Regions from separate parts of the Homo sapiens genome. Here region 2 is linked to region 1. Evidence: promoter capture Hi-C in 16 types of primary human blood cells and fetal thymus (Javierre and others, 2016). All regions are on one chromosome and are shown on one strand. The core of a region is centred on a gene start or on the middle of the fragment in contact, and the rest is flanking DNA. Distances in the headings are between cores, read along the strand shown. Region 1 holds the start of CLUL1 (clusterin like 1). Region 2 overlaps METTL4 (methyltransferase 4, N6-adenosine).

Region 1 (3,262 bases), core at 271-2,770:
CTTTGAATGTTTTGTAAACTGGCTTTGAAGGTACTTCTTTAAAAAAGAAGCACAAGAAAGACGGTGACTGGCAACAGCCTCACTGGAATACGTCTCTAATCATCAAGGCAACCCACACTCATTTGGATGTGTGCATCTGGTGATGTTATTATTTTTAAAGTTATGTGCCACAAAGATGCATTCTTTGCTATACAAAAGAGCTGTTGTTAAATTTATAAAGATATAAAAAGGGGAAAGGGGAAGGCACCAAATGGAAGATTCTTAGGCATTAAGTGCTCAGACAGCATAGATCTTCATTAGATGACGTCAGGGAGAAGAGACACAGACTTTGCCATCTCAGGTAGAAGTATCAAAGTCATCAGCCTCCTAGTAAGACAGACCTGGGTTTGAAGCTCTGCACAGCCATTTCCTAGCTGGTCTGGGGAAAAATTACTTCTTGAAGCCTCAGTGTCTTTATTTGTAAAGTAAGTGGAATTATATTACCTTGTCAGGATGTTGTCAGAATTAGAAATAATTTAAAGAGGTCCAGCACGAGCAGGTCAATCAAGGGAAGATGTTAAAAATAACAACAGGTGAAATGTACTCCCAAAAGATAAAGTGGATACATAGATGAATCTTCCTCACACACAGAGTATAATAACCTCAGAAAAATATTGCCTAGAGTAAACATGCCTCCCAAGCCAACGTTCATCATCCAGGAATACGGAGAGGATGTTTGGGATATGGGGGGCATGAAATTTTACAATTGTAGGGCCCTTTAACAAGGGTAGACTTGCAAGTTGCACTGCCTTTCCTGCCCTCTCTGGCTACCTGTTCCAGCATCCAGAGTTTGTGAACCTGGGGCCCAAGGACAGCACCTGGCATGGGCAGGCCCACTTGGCGACTCTCTCAGGGCTGCTGCAGCTGTGTCAGTGTCCCCACAGGGAGGCTGACATCCAGCCATGACCATCGCATTAAGCCCAGCAGTCGGGCAGGGGAGCAACTGCTCAGAGGCACCTTTGACCCACTACTTTTTTCCCCTCCTGCTTTATCTGCCCAGAGCGAGGCTCTCTTTCTAATGTGTACAAGGCGTTCTACCTATGACTCGTGGTCCTGCCATAGAAATGCTTTTTTTTTTTTAACTGAATTAAGTTGCCAAGTTTGAAAAATCAGGAATTTCACATAAGCATCCCTATTTCTGTCTTCTTTTGAAAAACTGAATGTTCTTTCCACAGTGAGCCCACATTCCTTCCTGACGACCATCACCGTTCAGCTGGAGTAGAGAGGGCTCTGCTCGCTTCAGATCCGGACGCGCAGGTCCTCTGCAGGCCCCGCCCACCCGGCGTCACCTGCAGGTCCCGCCCACCCGGCGTCTGCAGGCCCCGCCCACCCGGCGTCACCTGCAGGCCCCGCCCACCCGGCGTCTGCAGGCCCCGCCCACCCGGCGTCACCTGCAGGCCCCGCCCACCCGGCGTCTGCAGGCCCCGCCCACCCGGCGTCACCTGCAGGCCCCGCCCACCCGGCGTCTGCAGGCCCCGCCCACCCTGCGTCACCTGCAGGCCCGGGCCGCGGGGTTGGTTTCCACCCTGGAGGTTGCTGACACCCTGTGCCCTCGGCTGACTTCCAGCCGGTGGCACAGACGCCTCCAGGGGGCAGCACTCAAGCGCATCTTAGGAATGACAGGTGAGAACATCCTCCGGGCCCCAGATTTCTCTCCTCGCCGCTCTTGCCCATTTCTCCGGAGAGCCAGAGAAAGCCGCTCCCAAGTCCAAGGCCGAGCTCCGCAGACGCCCGGCCCCTCCGGCGCGGACAGAACAAAGCCACTGTTCTTGCCGGGGAAGGTAGAAATACTGTGGGCTGCTTCAGAGGCTGCCAGCAAAACTCAGGCAATCTCCTGGGCTGTTCCAATACGTTTATTCTCTTTTTCAAAACAGGAGGAGGAGGTAGAGGCGGGGAGACACACCATCCCTGCAAAACTACTGGCAAAAACTAAGCGGAGCCGGGTGTGGTGGCTCACGCCTGTAATCTCAACACTTTGGGAGGCCGAGGGGGGCCGATCACTTGAGGTCAGGAGTTGGAGGCCAGCCTGGCCGGCATGGTGAAACACAAAAATTAGTCGATTGTGGTGGTGCATGCTTGTAATCCCATCTACTTGGGAGGCTGAGGCAGGAGAATCGCTTGAACCCGGGAGGCGGAGGTTGCAGTGAGCCGAGATTGCGCCACTGCACTCCAGCCTGGACAACACAGTGAGATTCTGTCTCAAAATAAATAAATAAATAAACCCAAGCAGAAAAAGAATCACTCTGAAAACGATCACATCTAACTATCAATGCTCATACAGTTTATGGAATTATCAGCCCAACTTGATAAAATCAGTATTTGAGGAAACTGTGGATAAGCCCCCTGATTTCAATCCCCATTGTGCCAGGTCCTGGTTAACTGAGGTTAACGAAGTAAAGAGCTGCAGACACTATTAACTGCTACCTTAAACCGATTACTCTAGCTTAGCCTACTTTCCACGTACAGATTTTACCAGTGGACAACATGATGCTTTATCTTGTTTTTCTCTCCCTGGGACTTTTCTCCAGACATTGAAAACAGAAATACTAATAAGGCCACTTTTACCTGCCTGATGCAAGAACAGAATTTTCAAACTCAACATTAATGCAACTCCTCAGTCCCTGACAATGGCGGGTGGAAAAGTTTCTAAAAATATGCAGCAGCACAATTATCGGGAAGAGATGAGATACTGTTACCTAATAAAAATGCCATAAATAGAGAATGATGAACTACCATGGGAAATGAATGCATAGAAGAGGACATGCTGGAATGTGGGACAGTAAAAATCACTTAAACTTTGCGTGACCTTGAAGAAAGTCACGATGATCTGTTTTTCCAGGTCCCTCAAACAGTGAGATGTGGCTGTTTCCCAAGTCTTCCTCTCCAGTGTAAAGGGTCTGAATTTAGACGCTTTGTGAGTCTTCCTTCTTTCGACAGCCTGGAGTCTCTCTTGAGTCTCAAGGCTGCCTGAGTTCCTCTCTAACATCCTCTAGGCAGTATCAGCTAATGAGACAATGAATTCCATGGAGGCAGCAGTGGGAACAGAAGTACCTCTCTTGGATAATTTACAACACTGGTGAGCAGAGGGTCAGATCACCCTGGGGTTTGTGTCACAACCAAAAAAGTGGCTGTGGCACTGAGTTCTTGGATGGTTTTCTACAGCTGGTCCAGATTTTCCATGGGCTCACCTTTAAATTAAAAGAATTTCTGCACTTTGAAGAAT
Region 2 (3,262 bases), core at 448-2,947, 2.0 Mb after region 1:
TACAATGGGTTACTTTGCTATTCCTTGCCCTCATCCCCCACAAAATAAGAAAAAGAAATCACAAAGGGTGGTTGAAACTGTGAGTATATAAAGGGAAGAAGATGAAGAGTAAGACTATTTCTATGTTTGGTGATACACAATTCCCCAAAGTTTTTGTTTGTTGTTTTTTAAACTACAGACAAAATCAGAGCTTTTAAAAATTTTATCCTGATATCTTCCAGACTGACTTCCCAAAGCCAGCAGTTTGAGGCCCCATTACAAAAAGACATACAAAAAAAATATAGCCTTGAGAATAAAAATATAAAAGTGGTAAGCAGCAAAGCAAAAGTCTGAATTAGCCCATGTTGAAGGAGTACAGCAGTGACATGTTGAGCATTACAAAGTAGATGCTACCTTTATGTGACTTCTATCAAGCTGTATTAACAAATAAGCTAACTTCTGAACTTACTTTTACCCAGTGCCACTCAGCAACTACCTCCACAGACCAAGAGGGATAAAGTTCTTCCTTTATAAAACGTAGGTGCTTCTGTCTATTGGTCACCCAAGTAACAAGAAGACAGTTTGGAGCAGCCAATTTAGGGATAGGTATTTGCTGTATTTGCAGGGGTGACAAATAACTGTACCTAAAAATAAACGGAAAAAAGGATGAGCAAAATTCACTGCAAAAGAAGAAAACTAAGCAGGGATAAGACATGCATAACACAGACTCCACAAATGCAAAGCTCTTACTGCTATTTATTTGTGTAGCAAAATATAAAGCCACAGTGACACCCAGTGGACATATTATTACACACAAGACAAAAATCACCTTTTTTTTAACTAGTTTAAAATCGTCAGGCTGTATTTTTTTTTAGTCACTTCTAAATGCATTACATTTCAGTAATTTTACTATTAACAATATTTTTTTCTCCAATTCAAAATTAAGCAAATATTGTTGTTTAGATCCCATACTCTACGTTACACAGGAGCCCTGTCACAGTGAGTCTTGAAACGAGTCTCTCAATAACCTAAGTCAAACCATACAAGCCTTACCTGGCACCAAATCAGTGTTGCAAAATTGGTAATGCTAAAGCCAATCTATTCCAATGAAGCTTCTCCTAGCCCTAGAATCCTCAAACCCTGCACAAAATGCTGACTCCTTCACAGGGAGTCATCTCACCTATCCTCATCTCCACCCCACTGCATTTGCAACCCCTAATCTATCATCTTGCTTTTTGCCTTCTCAGTCAATTCCACTGGGTTCTCTAAAGCCCTCATATTTTCATTTTGTAAAACAAAATCTATAATCTTGTACCTCCTGGCCATAGAGTATAATGGCTAGTTTGTCCTGCAAAAATACTACTTGCTCTACAATACTCAATCAAATGAATATGGCCCCTTCTCCAACATTCAGTGGAAGGGGAGAAGTCATTATTCTCCTGGCTCCCCCATTGCTGCTTCTAGGCTATAACTCATCCACCTTTGCAAAAAAAAACCCTGTTCTCTTTGAGAGGTATGCTATCCAGCTATGTTAACCTCTACTGTTCCTCACTGAATCCATTTCATCCTCAACATATTCAATAAGGACTTAAGCTCTGAGATCCCACTACCTCACCAACACAAAACTGGCCACTATTCTGAACAATTTCAAAGCACAATCCATATAATGTATATACTTCAACTATTCTTCACCTAAACAAATACAACTGCCTTCATCCCACTTCCATAATCCACTCCAATGCCATAACCTGGACCCTGTCATCACTCACACTTGCTCCTTCTCTGAAACCATAAACATCAATCTCTGGCAATAACATGCTATGCCTCACCTACTCTTTGAGCTTATCTAGCAGCTTATTCCTGATTACACTTGCTCTTCTTCCCCGTGGACCGCCAATCGTTTCATTGTCTTCTCACTAGCACTCTCAGTTCCCATCCTCCCTTTACCCTTCAACCTCACAGTTCCTGCAAACCTCCCATCTTAAATCAGTATCACAATTTTATTCCACTTGTTTGTATAGGGAAAATCAGATGAAGAAAATGCGGAAGAACTGGGTATTAAAAGTTTATAAAATCCATTATCAGGATCTTAAAGTACTCATCAATTCTTTTACTCATCCTTGGTCAAGTACCACAAACCCTCACCACTCTTCAGATCCCTTGACCAAACTCTCTCTTAGCAGGTAAAGTTAACTCATACATCAGTAAAACTAAAGGCCGCCAACCTCCCTCAACTACCCAACCCTAACCCCTCTCCTTTATATACCTTTACTTATCTATTTCCATACATTTCCTCTTAAAGGAAATGGCATGATTTCACCTATTAAAGCTTATCCCTCCGGTTGTATTCTCTTAGTCCCATATGCTAGTATCTTGTAATACCAATTATCCCCTCCTTCTCTATTTTCAACTTCTCTAGTAGTTCTTTACCATCAACCTACAAATATGATTATCCTATCTCATTTGAAAAGAAGATGAGAAAAGGAGGAGAGAGGGAGGAGAGAGTAAGAAGAGGAGAGGAAAAGGTGTGGAGGGGAGGAGAGGAGAAAGAAGAGGACAGAGAATACAGAAGAGAAATTCCCTCAATTCCATCACCTTCTATCTACAACTAAGCTAAGGACTTGTATGCAAATCCTACTTTATCTCCTTTATTTTATTCCTTAGTTGACTCCAATGAGACTTTTACCACTATGCCTACTCTGAAAAAAGTAAATGACTTCCTAATGGCCAAATGCAACAAACATTGGAATCCAGCTCTAGCATGTGACAACTGTATGTCAGGGACAATCAATAAGTATTTCTTAAAACAAATAGGGCTGGGTGTGGTGGCTTATGTCTGTAATCCCAACACTTTGGGAGGCCGAGGCAAGTGTATCACCTGAGGACAGAAGTTTGAGACTAGCCTGGCCAACATAGTGAAACCCCATCTCTACTAAAAAAAAAAAAAAAAAAAAAAAAATTAGCCGGGTGTGGTGGCAGACACCTGTAATCCCAGCTACTCAGGAGGCTAAGGCAGAAGAATCACCTGAACCCAGGAGGTGAAGGTTTCAATGAGCCGAAATCATACCATTGCACTCCAGCCTGGGCGACAACAGCGAAACTCTGTCTCAAAAAAAATAAAATAAAATAAAAATAAATAAATAAATAAGCAAAAGAATTCAGATCTCAAGCACCCAAGTTTCCTGCCATCGAAACAAGTGCTCTTCCCGCAGACTAGTATTTCTCATAATCGAAGTGATGAAGGAACTAATTTTGCTACAGTATGAAGAATGTCAGGTCAAAA

What was found. The method cuts DNA at HindIII sites, captures the fragments that hold promoters and counts their contacts. A CHiCAGO score of 5 or more calls a contact.
Region 2: a fragment that was not itself captured here is called in contact with the fragment with the promoter of CLUL1 in region 1 in 1 of 17 cell types (total CD4 T cells); the score reaches 6.2 in total CD4 T cells.

What each region holds. Positions count from the first base shown.
Region 1 is chr18:595,468-598,729 of GRCh38, forward strand. CLUL1 (clusterin like 1) reads left to right here and starts at 1,521. Exons shown (of 10, transcript NM_001393344.1): 1 at 1,521-1,662. RefSeq lists silencers at 1,270-1,399, 1,460-1,579 and an enhancer at 2,002-2,501. The HindIII fragment of the contact is 7,229 bases long and covers 1-3,262 here.
Region 2 is chr18:2,546,907-2,550,168 of GRCh38, forward strand. It overlaps METTL4 (methyltransferase 4, N6-adenosine), which reads right to left. Exons shown (of 9, transcript NM_022840.5): 6 at 449-623. Among named protein-coding and RNA genes, the nearest start is that of METTL4, 23 kb to the right of the region's middle. The HindIII fragment of the contact is 1,217 bases long and covers 1,090-2,306 here.